Regions from separate parts of the Homo sapiens genome. Here regions 1, 2 and 3 are each linked to region 4. The links are contacts of gene promoters, found by promoter capture Hi-C in blood cells and fetal thymus (Javierre and others, 2016). All regions are on one chromosome and are shown on one strand. The core of a region is centred on a gene start or on the middle of the fragment in contact, and the rest is flanking DNA. Distances in the headings are between cores, read along the strand shown.

Region 1 (3,239 bases), core at 740-3,239, 3.4 Mb before region 4:
CCCAGGTTCAAGCAATTCTCCTGCCTCAGCCTCCCAAGACAATAGTAAAATTTAAACTCAATTTCCTTAGTCCATAACAACCTCCTGTAGCAGAGGATTATCAGAATGCATTAAAGAAAACTGTGCAAAGTGTATCATGACCACATCAATTTTATTAGGTCAACTGAAAGTGGTAACAAGACATATGGGCAGGCCAGTGACTACTCCACACTGAATGAGCTCATAAAATCTATAATAAAAGGTAAAATTAATAAATATCAACATACAAACCCTTCCAGGGAAAGAGCTGACTGGTATGTTTAAAGGGAAAACCATGCCTGACTCAGGCGGAATGAACTGCTGGTGCAGAGACCTTAAGCTGTGGCTGGAATATAGTGAGTGAGGAAAGGAGTGGTGTTAGATAAAGTCAGAGAAGCAGGCAGGGACCAGATAATGCAGGGCTTTGTGAGACAGGGTAAAGAGTTGGGATTTGTTCAAGGGAAGCCATTGGAAAGTTTGGGGCAGAGGAAGTACATAACAGATTGTGTATTAAAAAGATCACTTTGGCTACTAAGTGGAAAATGCACTGTAGATGGCAAGAGTGAAAGCAAGGAAGGTGAGTGAAAACAAAGAGGAACTTGGATAAGGGAAGTAGTAGTAGATGAGATGTTATAAGGTGCATAGATTCAGAATATGTTTCAGAGTTAAAAGTTGAAAGGACTTGCGGATGGATGGGCTGGGGCATGGCTATGAGGGGAAAAGAGAATCAAGGATTACCTTAAACAACTAAGGAAACCAGGGGTATCCAATCTTTTGGCTTCCCTGGGCCACACTGGAAGAAGAATTGTCCTGGACCACACATAAAATATACTAACGCTAATGACAGCTAATGAGCTAAAAAAAAAAAAAAATCGCAAGAAAACCTCATAATGTTTTAAGAAAGTTTACAAATTTGTGTCTCATTCAAAGCCGTCCTGGACTGCATGCAGCCCATGGGCTGTGAGTTGGACAAGCTTGAGTTAAAGGATGATCCCATTTTCTGAAATTGGGAAGGCTAGGAAAGGAAGCAGGTATGTGGAGAAAAGTCAAAGTCAAATGTATAGGAGAGGTGTGCTAAATTTTACAAAATGAGAGGGATGAAAGAAGATATAAATAAATAAGAAGATACAGTAAGTTCATAGACTGGAAACCTCAACATATTAAAGATGTCAATTCTCCCCAAACTGCTATACAGGTCTAATGGACTTATCAGAATCTCAGGAAGACTCTGTTGACATTGAAAATATTATCCTAACATTAAATGGAAACTCAAAGAGACTAGAAGAGTTAAAACAATTTTGATTAAAAAACAGTAACAAGGGAGGAATTACTCTACCTGATTTCACAGCCTATTTAGAGCTACAGTAATCAAGACTGGGTGGTACTGGTAGAGAGCTAAACATATGTGATCAATGGAACAGAATAGAGGACCCAAAAATAGGCCTACATAAATATGCTCAGCTAATTTTTAACAAAGATGCAAAAGTAACTCAGTGGAGGAAGAGTGGCCTTTTCAACGAATGGTGTTGGAGCAATCTGACATCTATAGCCCACAAAAAAAAAAAAAAAAAAAAAAAACCTAAACCTAAATCTCACACTCATAGAAAAATTAACTCAAAATGGACCACAGATTTAAACAAATGTAAAACTCTAAAACTTTTAGGAGGGAAAAAAAAAAGGAGAAAATCTTTGGGATGTAGGACTGGTCAAAGAGTTCTTAGAATTAACCCCAAAAACATAATCTATAAAAACAAAAATGTTATCAAATTTTAATAAACTAGTTTCATCAAAATTAAAAACTTCTCTGCAAAAGGCTGCTCAGAGAATGAGAAAACAAGCCACATATACAAACACAAGGTACAGACAGAAAAAGAGAGAAATCTGAAAACTACATATCTAACAAAAAACTAGTATCTACAACATATAAAGAACTCTCAAAACTCAACTGTTAAAAAGTAAAACAATCTAATTAGAACACTAGCAAAAGACATAAACAGACATTGCACCAATGAAGATATACAGATGGCAAATAAGTACATGAAAAAATGATCAATACCATTGGTCAACAGAGAAATTCAAATTAAAACTACAATGAGAAATCACTACAAACATATCAGAATGACTAAAACAAAAAAAAAAGTAGTGACAGCATCAAATGCTAGTGAGGATGTGGAAAAACTGATCACTCACACATTGCCAGTGGGAATGTAAAATGGTACCGTCACTCTGGAACACTTTGGTTGTTTCTTAAAAAACTAAACATACACTTATCATATGACCCAGCAATTGCACTCCTGGGTATTTATCCCAGAGAAATATTCACAAAAACCTGCACACAATGTCACAGCAGCTTTATTTGTAATAGCCAAAGACTGAAAATAACTCAGATGTCCTTTGATGGATGAATGGTTAAACAAACCATGATACATCCAGACCAAGTAATACTACTTAGCAATAAGAATGAATGAACTACTGATATACTCAATGTACTCGGATGAAATCTCCAGAGAATTATACTGAGTGAAAAGTGCCAATCCCAAAAAATTACATACCGTTTGATCCCATTCATACAATATTCTTGAAGTGACAAAATTATAGAAAAGGAAAACAGATAAGTAGTTGGCAGGGGTAAGCAGGCAGGGTAATGGGGGCAACAGAGGGAAGTGGCTGTAAATGCGTGTGTCTATAAAAGGCCAACATGAGGGATCCCCGTAGTGAAGGAATTGTCCTGTATCTTCATTGTATCGCTGTCCATACCCTGGTGGTGATACTGTATTTTAGTACTGCAAGATGCTACCATTGAGGAAACCAAGTAAAGGTACATGGGATCTCTCTATGTCTTATAACCCAATTATCTCAAAATCAAAAATTTAAATAAAAAGATTAGCAAGGGGTGGGAGCAATGTGGAAAATGTCAGGCTTCGGGTCATGATGGATCATTAAAATTAGAGGGAAGAGCATGCCAAATTTAAGCTTAAAAGGCATTCCAGGAAGTCTTACCAATACGCACTCTAATACCCCCTCTGTCAATGTACCCTCACCTATGCTAACTTGAAATTTTTAAATGCTATGTCAATTTAATTTTTTCAACTAATGTTTCTTTTGTAATTGTATATTTACACCCTGGGCAACTTTGTTTTTAATCATAAACCTGAGTTTATAAAATATTAGTGTCACATAACTTAAGAAAAATTAAAAGTTTATATTCTTCAAACTGGTAT
Region 2 (3,647 bases), core at 1,088-3,587, 3.4 Mb before region 4:
CTCACATTCTGGAGGCTAGAAAGTTCCAGATCAAGGTCCTGCAGGGTTCGGTTTCTGGTGAGGACTCTCTTCCTGGCTTACAGGAAACCACCATCCCATTGTGTGCTCACATGACCTCTGCTTTGACTGATTTCTGAGAGAAAGGGAATTCTGGTGTCTCTTCCTCTTCTCATAAGAGCACTAGCTCTATGGGATTAGTGATCCACCCTTTTGACCTCATTTAACCTTTATCACCTCCTCACAGGCCCTATCTCCAAATGGGGATAACATTGGGGATCAGGGCTTCAACATATAAAGTTGAAGAGAACATGATTCAGTCTATAGTAATCCCTGATGGGAGACATCATTATTGTCATTTACAGGAAGCTGAGACATAAAAAGTTTAACGTTCAGATTCCACAGCTAGAATTAGTGTAAAATGCAGGTGTATTTGACTCCTAAAACCCATTTATCCATCCACTATTCTGGGTGTCTCAAACTGGGACCTAAAATGCGGAGGTTTGCACATGACCTGAAATTACTTCCACCACTGGGAGAAGGGAGGATTGAGCAATTTCCTGTTTCTATTAAAGTGCATTATACAAACTTGTCATTCTGGGGATGAAAGGTCACCCTAGAATTGCCTATGGGCAATTTCTTATAGTTCAACCTAGAATGAGAAATGGGAAATTCAGAAAGGCATTGTAGGCATCTGTAACCAGCAGAGGGACGTGCCCCACCTGGGTGGGGACCATGCATCCTTGCCACATGCCCCACTGCACAACTTCCCCAGCTCCTCAACGTCACATGGATCTGGAAAGCAGGGAGACTGGACTACGGAGCCAGCCCTCCAGGGTTGGAACTGAGTTTGAATCTCAGCTTGACTACTTACTAGGATCTAAGGTAACATGTTTAATCTCTCTGTGCTCAGTTTCCTCATCTGGAAATAGAGATTATAATGCTCCTCCCTCATATGATCATAGTGAGGACTGAAAGAGTTAATGCATATAAGGAGTGTTAGGACAGGATCTGGCACATGGTAAATGCTTTATAAGTGTTAGTTGTTATCATCATGATTATTCTTGTTTGAATTATAAGAGAAAAAGCATGTATCTTAAGAATAGAGGGTTTTAAAATGCTCCCAAGTTCCTTAACCAACCTGAGCCATCTGTAAATTAAGTACTATGGGATTTCCAGCTCTGACATGTATTCTGACATGTAACTGGCATCAGTTTAATACAAACTATTCTAAAATGTCTTGTGCCCTTGACAGGGAGGTCCAAGTACTGGATACTTGCAATGCAATCCAGCAGTGGCCCCGTCTTTCTTACAAAAAGGCCCCAGTCACATGTTGATGAGGCTAGATCTATTCCTGTCCTCCTTCTCTTCCCCATATTTCCTTATTCTTCTTCAAGTCTAAACGTTTATTGAACTGAGACCCATGAATGAGTTACTCGACTAGGCTTGTAGGATAAACTTGCCAGGCTTTAGATCTATTTGTTCCTTTCCATCCCCCAAAATCAAATGGCTGCTCCAGGAAAATGTTCCCCTTGTGGCAGGGTCCGGGAGAAAAGAGAGAAGCGACAAAACCAAAAATTAAAACGACCGAAGTCCCATATGCTCCAGGAATATGTCCTGGAGATGGGAGTGGAGGGCAGGGGGAGAATGTTGTTGAGGTCAAAATTTTTGAAGTTTTAAGTCCTATATCTTGACATCCCGAGTATAAATGCGGGTACCAGACACAGTACAAACGTTCTCAAAGCCCAGTTACGTATTCCAAACCAAACGCGGGCTCTTGAAGGGTGATGAGGTAGGGATGAAATCCAGGATCGCCTGAAGACCATTTCTTCCTCTCTTAGGGACCTGCTGGTCTCCAGCTGATTCGGTCCAGGAGGAAAAACCTCCCACTTGCTCCTCTCGGGCTCCCTGCAAGGAGAGAGTAGAGACACTCCTGCCACCCAGTTGCAAGAAGTCGCCACTTCCCCCTCCAGCCGACTGAAAGTTCGGGCGACGTCTGGGCCGTCATTTGAAGGCGTTTCCTTTTCTTTAAGAACAAAGGTTGGAGCCCAAGCCTTGCGGCGCGGTGCAGGAAAGTACACGGCGTGTGTTGAGAGAAAAAAAATACACACACGCAATGACCCACGAGAAAGGGAAAGGGGAAAACACCAACTACCCGGGCGCTGGGCTTTTTCGACTTTTCCTTTAAAAAGAAAAAAGTTTTTCAAGCTGTAGGTTCCAAGAACAGGCAGGAGGGGGGAGAAGGGGGGGGGGGTTGCAGAAAAGGCGCCTGGTCGGTTATGAGTCACAAGTGAGTTATAAAAGGGTCGCACGTTCGCAGGCGCGGGCTTCCTGTGCGCGGCCGAGCCCGGGCCCAGCGCCGCCTGCAGCCTCGGGAAGGGAGCGGATAGCGGAGCCCCGAGCCGCCCGCAGAGCAAGCGCGGGGAACCAAGGAGACGCTCCTGGCACTGCAGGTACGCCGACTTCAGTCTCGCGCTCCCGCCCGCCTTTCCTCTCTTGAACGTGGCAGGGACGCCGGGGGACTTCGGTGCGAGGGTCACCGCCGGGTTAACTGGCGAGGCAAGGCGGGGGCAGCGCGCACGTGGCCGTGGAGCCCGGCCTGGTCCCGCGCGCGCCTGCGGGTGCCCCCTGGGGACTCAGTGGTGTCGCCTCGCCCGGGACCAGAGATTGCGCTGGATGGATTCCCGCGGGCAGAGGCAGGGGGAAGGAGGGGTGTTCGAAACCTAATACTTGAGCTTCTTTGCAAAGTTTCCTTGGATGGTTGGGGACGTACCTGTATAATGGCCCTGGACCAGCTTCCCTGTTGGAGTGGCCAGAGAAGTGTGTAAAACACACTAGAGGGGCAGGGTGGAAAAAGAGACTGCCTTCAAAACTTGTATCTTTTCGATTTCATTTTGAAAAATAACTACAAATCTATTTTAATTTTACAAAGTTAGACTCATAGCATTTTAGATATCAATGTCTTCATTTAACAGAAGTGAAGATGGAGCAAACGCTCAATCAGCGTCTGTATTTATTCGCTCCTGTTGTGCCAGGGTGCGTTTTTGCCGAGCGGTTGCCTTTCTTTACTCACAAAACCCCCTTGATGTCTGTCCTCCACGTTTTACGAGGGAGAGCCGGATCTTTTGAAGTTTGTATCATCTAAAGCAGGTATATTGGGATGACTATGGATAGAATTTAACCTGAAAACACTGAAGTTGACAGCTGACAAAGATATAAGAATCCAAAGTATGTTAAAAATTAAGGAGCTGAGGCCCACAGAAGTGAAGTTACTTTTCCAGCATCACACAGCAGATCTAGGACCCTGTGTGATTTGAAAAGGCCAAGGTATCTAATGATGCTCATAATTTAGTTTACATTTTGTGTCAAATAGATGAGGTCAAGTGGACATTATGTGTATATTCCAAAGCCAAAATTACTGCTTGTAATATCCATTCATCTCTCCGAAGACGTAGTGCCTCTTTTATATGGCTTTAACCTAATGTATAATCGAAGTGAATTAGGGCAGCCAGACTTTTAATCACAGGACTGATCTTTTAAAAACGGGTATATGTAAAGTTAATTGCTTATCTATGTGAACAGTAATATACACTATAAAAAGTTTTCAAGGCAACTTCCTGCCTGTGGTTTAATTTGATAGTCACAATGAT
Region 3 (3,368 bases), core at 639-3,138, 3.2 Mb before region 4:
GTTGAATTTTAGCTTTTTAAAATTTAGAATAATTTCATCTCTGAACATATATTGTTCACAATTATGTTTCACAAACCACATTTTTCTTCAGACTCTGACAATGGTAGTTACGTACTTCTGATCCTTAATTCCCTCAGGACTGATTATTGGGAATAGGAAATAAATTAGTAGTTTTTATCTTTAAAAGCCTAGTGACCTCTTGATGCAAGTATGTTTAAGAAGAGTTCGCTTAAAGCCATTAAAGTATGAAATCTAGATGAAGGATTAGGAAATAGATTTTAACAAAAAATATTTTTGATTCTGATTGTTTTTATCATGTATATTTGAAAAATGATTCTCTTTAAACTACCTGAGAATGATAGTAGTAGTTTCTTGCAATACTGGTTTTCACAGAAGATCGAAGTTGAGTTGTGCTTTTTCTTTAAGCTGTACTTTGATTGAATTTTGATATAGATTGTAATAGATTCAGTAAGAAACAGAAGCAGTTATGTAATATGACAGTGTCTTAGAGCTGTCATTTTAGTCTGAGGTTATTTCGTAAAGGGCTAATTCCATTTTGAATAGATAAATAAAAGTATATCTTATAGAGAGTACTGCACACATAATGAAATAACTGTTTTTATGGCATAATTTCTTGGCTTAATTATAATTTAATTAGGTATAATCAAATTATAATTTAATAGTTTAAATGTGTTTTAAACTATCCAGAATTAAATCAAAATCAGAATTTTGATTTAATTCTGGATAGTTGAGGAGCCTTTGTATTAATAAATTATTTATTTTTATTTTTTATTTTTTCCATAGGAATTACAGTTCTTAACACCTTTATACTAGGAGCTTAAAATATTCAGGATTTGGGTTTTTCTTCATCTCATTTAAAATGAAATTTAGAATTTAATGGTTAATTTAATTTAGTAAATTTGGCATAATTTTTAACACATCTACTTTGTCCTTTAAAAAGAAAAACTGAGTCAGTAAATAATAATTTTAATTTGCTTAGAAGGATTTTTTAAAATTCCAAGGATAGGTAGCTGCTCATTTATACTCTGCCTAGTCTAATTTTTATTGTTTCGTATTGGTAATTTTTATTTTTATTTATCTATTTATTTTATTGTGGTAAGAACTGGTACTTCTTTTTTTCTAATGATGTTTATAGGTAGGGTTTGTGTGTGTGTCTTATTTTTTATAAAATTATTTTAAACTTGTAGAAAAGTTGCAAGACTAGTAAAAGAATTCTTGAATATCCTTCACCCAGATTCCCCAAATGTTAACTTTTACTACATTTGCTTTATTCGATGTAGTTTTTCTCTACCATTTGGGAACATATAAACTAAATTATTTTTTGGTGACTTCTGCGTTTTCATTTAGATTTACAATTTTTTTTTATCCACTGTTCAGGAATTGAACCAAAGTTAAACATCCTTGAAATTGTTAAACCTGCGGACACTGTTGAGGTTGTTATTGATCCAGATGCCCACCATGCTGAATCAGAAGCACATCTTGTTGAAGAAGCTCAAGTGATAACTCTTGATGGCACAAAACACATCACAACCATTTCAGATGAAACTTCAGAACAAGTGACAAGATGGGCTGCTGCACTGGAAGGCTATAGGAAAGAACAAGAACGCCTTGGGATACCCTATGGTAATAAAATGCATAATTCTATATTGGGTAGAATAATAGGAATTAAGCTTGACATAGAAGACACTAGGGTAAGTTATAATCTATTTTACATGTAGAGTTATTAGGATGAATGTTGATTTTCTGTATCTCTCTTTTAATTGTAACGCACATTTAAGCTCATGTGGTGGACAAATTCTGTCCTGCGTGCAGGAAATACAAAGAAGTCTAAAAAATTTCTGCTCTTAGGGTGTTGAGAGTGTAGTTGAAGAGAGAGAAGATAGATGAAAAGAGATGATTGCCATAAAAGGTAACATGTTTTTAAACTGCCAGTAACTCTTGTAGAAGTATGCTATTGGAATCTCAAAGAGATCATAGTTGCCCTGAGGGAAAGCTGAAAAGAGTTTATTATAAATAAGATACCATTGGGCAGAGAAAGACATTTAAGACAGGAAATGTTATGTGCAAAGCTTAGACCTGGGGGTATGCATGAGTAGTGAGAAAATGGAGTGGTTAAGGAGTTACTCTGTAGCATTACAGAACTGTTTTTGATTGATGAAAATGATAATTGAAAAATGAATATGGTGGCAATATATGGCATAAGTTGGAACAGGTAGAGACTAAGTGAAGGGAAAACAGGAGCATATTATTATAGTTGTGACTGGATGATAATGTCTACATTAGCCCAGACTCCAGATGATTTCTTTGGGAGTAGCAAGGAAAAAGTGGATGAAAACAGTGATAGGACTGAGCAGATTGACAGATTTTATGAGGGTAGAGAGGGAAGATACAAGTATTGATCTAACTTCTCAAGCTTCATCTTGGTGACTAAAACAGTAATAATCTTGATAAAAATTGGTTCCATCATCATTACATATTTAGTGAACACTACCGTACACCAGGCACCATGTTAAATGCTGGGCTTAATTAAGATGGTGCACTATGAAGAGCATGCTTTCAAAAGCCCAGTTGGGGAAGTAGAGAAGTCTGGTATAGGAAATGTTTTTTTCAAGAGAAGGTGGATAGCACTTGATTTTGATGTGGAAGTTTATATTCAGCTGGAGGTTAGCCAGAAAATGGTTTCAGTTATATAAGATTTGGGCTGGAGACAAAGATGTTATATGAGACTCATTCCCACTGAATTTATATTTGAAGCTATAAAAGTCTACGTAGTCCCTGATGGAAAGCGAGAAATGGAAAAGAACACACAACTAAAGGCATATACACTTGACCCTGTAAACATTTAGGGTTGGAGAAAAGGGAGACAAGAAATAACTGAAGAGACAGAAAGAAAGTAATAACTTATATGTATAGTGTCACTGAAATTGAGGGGAGAGTTTGGATGGTCAAGACTCTCAGATGCTGCTGAGAAAGTCAAAGAATGCTGACTGATATCTATTAAATTTGATGATCAGAGGATTATTCTTAAATTTAGACAGAAGTAACTAGAGTTGGCGAGACAAAACAGAATTATAAGAAATAGATATCTTAGAAATGGGGGCAGATGAGGAAGAATGCTGGGGTAACAAATAAATAATACTGATCTTCCAAGAGTTGGCGGGGACCTGAGTGTATTTGTAAATGAAACAGTATTGTCGGGTTTTTGTCCTTTTTTTATTTTTTATTTTTAGAGACAAGGTTGTACCTGGGGAGCAGGGCTGATGACAGAAAGGCTGTATTGTAGAACCACTGTTTTCCCTAGGACATTTTTTTTCTTTCTTTAAACCAAACCTAAAAGATACACAGTA
Region 4 (3,594 bases), core at 663-3,162:
GCAAAACTCTGTCCCTACAAAAATAAGCTAGCCGTGATGGCCTGTACCTGTAGTCCTAGCTACTGGAAAGGCTAAGCTGGGAGGATCACTTGAACCCGAGAGGCGGAGATTGCAGTGAGCCAAGTTCACGCCTCTGCACTCCAGCCTGGGTAACAGAGCCAGACTCTGTCCCCGAAAAAAAAAAAAAAAAGATTAGCCAGGAGTCCTAGCTACTAAGGAGGCTGAGGTGGGAGGACTGACCGCTTGAGCCCAAGAGGTTGACACTGCAGTGGGCCATGATCATACCACCACACTCCAGGTTTGGAGACAGAGCGACCCTGTCTTACAAAAAAAAAAAAAAGAAAAAAGAGAACATTATTGGGATAACTACAGAAGTCTAAATACAAGGCTGTATCCTGGATTACAGTATTATACAAAAGTCAAAGTTTCTGCATACTATAACCATTATTATAATTGCTGCAGGCTAGAAAATGGCATTGTTTTTAGAAGATACATGCTGATGTATTTAGGAGTTAAGAGTCCCGACTTCTGCAACTAACTCTTATAAGTTCAGAAAAATACATAAATTAAGAGAGAGAAAGCAAATGCAACCAAGTATTAGCAATTGGTAAATGTAGGTAAAGAGTATATGGGATGTCGTTCTAATATTCTTGCAACTTTTCCTCATAAGAACTTTTCAAATATAAAACATTTGAGAAAATCTGTTAAATAAAAAACATTAAAAGATGCAAGTAAAGTGCTTAGCACAGTAACACAACAGGTTGCTATAATTGTTAATACTGTTATTATCTTCCAAAACAGATTAAGTGACAGATCTAAGAAAATGTGACATTGAAATCACTAGAATTAACTACATCAGAAACAGGAAAAAAAAGCATTCTCATAAAATTGGACTGTGCTATAATAAATCTAACACCATAAAAAAATACCATTACAAAACCCCTCATCGTGTAGTTTTACACGAATCCACTTTAAGGTCGTCCTTAAGCAAGTACTTAGTGAGCGTCTATTAGGTGCCAGTCTGTTCTAGGTTCCGAGGATAAAAACATTTGCTTTCAAAATACTTACGTCCTAGTGAACCAAGACAATAAATGTCATAAATACAATGGAGTAAAATAAAGTAGGAAGAACATGGGAGTGGGGAAGGGCTACCAAGAGGGTGATCATGGGAGACCTCACTGAGGTGTCGAGAGCAAAGTTTGGAGCCACCTAACTGAAGAGCGTTGGGAGCCGGCCAGGTAGTCAAGGCACAGTGAAGAGATCAGTGTGGCTGGATGAAGTAAGCCAAGAGGAGGGAGCTGAAGATGGGACTGCAGATGGAAAGGGGTAACAGGCAGTCCAGAAACCAAATATACCATCCTAAGAGCTTTAGCTTAGGAGAAGCCACTGTAGGTAGCAAAGGAGAGGCACAATCTGCGGTAACCTCCACAGTGGATTCACTTTAACATTCTCCCAACTCTCCTTCTTCCCAGCGCCGCCCTCCCCCAACCAACCCGCTACCTCGGCCAGATCACCTTCCAGTGAACCTGACACATTATCATTTCTTCATGAATATTATGGGTGTGTGCTCGGATGAGGACAGCTCTGGCATGGTACATCTTTTCTCTCACGATTCCCCAATCTGCTCAGAGATAACACAAACCGCTCTCAGGGACGCACACACAACAGAGAGGTCACACTCGACAGGGAAACACACGCCTCCCTACAGCCGCGCTCCACACACCCTCCAGCAACGCGCTGGGCGGAGCCAGCCGCCTCGAAGCGAGGCTCCCGGGTCGGCCGAGCCAGCCCCCGCTCACCCTCAGGTTCCCTTTAGTTCGCTGCTTGTTCTTCCCGCCCATGGTCGCGGTTGCAGCTGTACTCTGAGCACTCAGACCCCGGTTGACACGTCCGGGACACAACTTCCGGCTTCTGGCGGCGGAAGAGGACACCCTGTAATAACTTCCCCCGGGCCCTTTTCCGCCACCCACCCTGTCCATTTGCTGCCCCACTTCCGCTCCCGCCTCCCGCTGTGTCCCTGACCATCCGCCACCGGAGACGTCACAGCTAAAGCCACGCCTGTCTGAGTGATGTCATTCCTGGCCAATAGGAAGCCAAGCATTGGACCCGTGGCGCCAAATCCTGTCCTCCCCGCTTTCAGAAGCTAGGTTTGTTCCTTGCTTAGAGGGTAGGAAACTGGCGTGAATCATCAGAGGGGCAGTTTCACATAAGGGTAGCATTAGAATGTTATGGTAGAGGCTGTGGGAAGATGGGAGTGTTTTAGACTTCCAACATGATGCAATCATCAGTATCACCTGGGCGTTTTTTAGAAAAGGCCAACTCGGGCCCCTCAGAACTCCTGAATCAGATCCTGCATTTTGACAGTATTCCCAAGTCTTGTTAAAATTTGATTACTGCTGTAGGCACTATTCTCTCTAAATCTCCCCTCCCCGTCCCCTTTTATTCATATTGAAACTGTTAACGTGCAGTTTAGGAAAGAGGATAATGTGGGAGTCCCTATTAAAATTTGAAATGTACAAATCCTGTAACCCATTGATTGTGCGACTCAGAATCACACCAGAGAAACAAGTAAATGTGTGCTGGTTATTGTTTCTTGTCCACGCAGTCACCCTTTTATACTCAACTCCATGTTACTGGGGGGGCTTCTGCTAGATTCCACCAACAGGACGAACAAGAGGGAAACAAAGGCAAGAGGAAGAAGGGACTTGCTCCATTCTGTAAGCATCATGCCAGCAGCAGCTGCATTTTACCGTGGCAGGAGCAATTGCTTTAGCCAAAAGGTGGTTTTAATCTCTATCCTTTTTCCAACAATCACAGAATCAGCCTTATTGCACCCCTCAGAGATCACAGCAGCAGTCAGTGCTCTCCTCAGAGATCTGAATTCTACTTTCATGCGGCCCCTCCCCTGAGCTCCTGAGATAGCCAATGTTTGAGCCACCTCCTCAGAAGTTTGAGCCTCAACACCGTGGGATCCCTTCTTTGTGCTCCAGAGATCCAGTAACAGCCAGCCATCACCCTCTCTTCATTCTTCATAGGCCTGAACTAAGGTGTTCAGGGCCCTCCTTCAAGCTTTTAGGTTCTGATGACTCCAACCACTTCTTTTGTTCCATCCTTTCCTAGCTCTAGGAATGGTAGCTGCTACCTGCAGTGATTACCTGTTACCTTTTATAATTCCTTTTGACCAATTTCCCATATTAAAATATTTCTCAATAACTAATGTGATTTCTGTTTTCCTGACTGGACCCTGATTTTAAAATGCACACAAAAGCCAGGTGCAGTGGCTTATGCCTGTAATCCCACCACTGTGGGAGGCCGAGGCAGGTGGATCACCTGAAGTCAGGAGTTCGAGACCAGCCTGGCCAACATGGCAAAAACCCATCGCTACTAAAAATACGAAAATTAGCTGGGCAGTGGTGGCAGGTGCCTGCAATCCCAGCTACTTGGAAGGCTGAGGCACGAGAATCTCTTGAACCCGGGAGGCGAAGGTTGCAGTAAGCCAAGATCATGCCACTGCACTCCAGCCTGGGTGACAGAGCAGACTGTCTCAGAAAAAAGTCACACAAAGAGACATATTACAGGAGGTTCACAAAAACT

What was found. Contacts are between HindIII fragments. The CHiCAGO score rates a contact against its expected background, and 5 or more counts as called.
Region 1: a contact is called between a fragment that was not itself captured here and the fragment with the promoter of LTN1 in region 4, in 3 of 17 cell types (total CD8 T cells, naive CD8 T cells and naive CD4 T cells). The highest score is 9.8, in total CD8 T cells.
Region 2: a contact is called between the fragment with the promoter of MIR155HG here and the fragment with the promoter of LTN1 in region 4, in 2 of 17 cell types (total CD4 T cells and non-activated CD4 T cells). The highest score is 7.6, in total CD4 T cells.
Region 3: a contact is called between a fragment that was not itself captured here and the fragment with the promoter of LTN1 in region 4, in 2 of 17 cell types (total B cells and non-activated CD4 T cells). The highest score is 5.9, in total B cells.

What each region holds. Positions count from the first base shown.
Region 1 is chr21:25,589,508-25,592,746 of GRCh38, forward strand. All of the region lies in intron 8 of MRPL39 (mitochondrial ribosomal protein L39), which reads right to left. Among named protein-coding and RNA genes, the nearest start is that of LINC00515, 7.9 kb to the left of the region's middle. The HindIII fragment of the contact is 1,999 bases long and covers 991-2,989 here.
Region 2 is chr21:25,559,808-25,563,454 of GRCh38, forward strand. It overlaps MIR155HG (MIR155 host gene), which reads left to right and starts at 2,338. Exons shown (of 3, transcript NR_001458.3): 1 at 2,338-2,450. RefSeq lists an enhancer at 1,873-1,922 and silencers at 2,303-2,392, 2,403-2,682. The HindIII fragment of the contact is 13,141 bases long and covers 1-3,647 here.
Region 3 is chr21:25,750,591-25,753,958 of GRCh38, forward strand. GABPA (GA binding protein transcription factor subunit alpha) reads left to right here. Exons shown (of 10, transcript NM_002040.4): 5 at 1,399-1,644. Among named protein-coding and RNA genes, the nearest start is that of GABPA, 17 kb to the left of the region's middle. The HindIII fragment of the contact is 399 bases long and covers 1,690-2,088 here.
Region 4 is chr21:28,990,965-28,994,558 of GRCh38, forward strand. LTN1 (listerin E3 ubiquitin protein ligase 1) reads right to left here and starts at 1,913. Exons shown (of 30, transcript NM_015565.3): 1 at 1,800-1,913. The coding sequence starts at 1,841. It overlaps LOC105372766 (a long non-coding RNA gene), which reads left to right and starts at 2,139. Exons shown (of 3, transcript XR_007067835.1): 1 at 2,139-2,167; 2 at 2,606-2,717; 3 at 2,818-3,217. RefSeq lists enhancers at 1,718-1,827, 2,138-2,197. The HindIII fragment of the contact is 7,723 bases long and covers 1-3,067 here.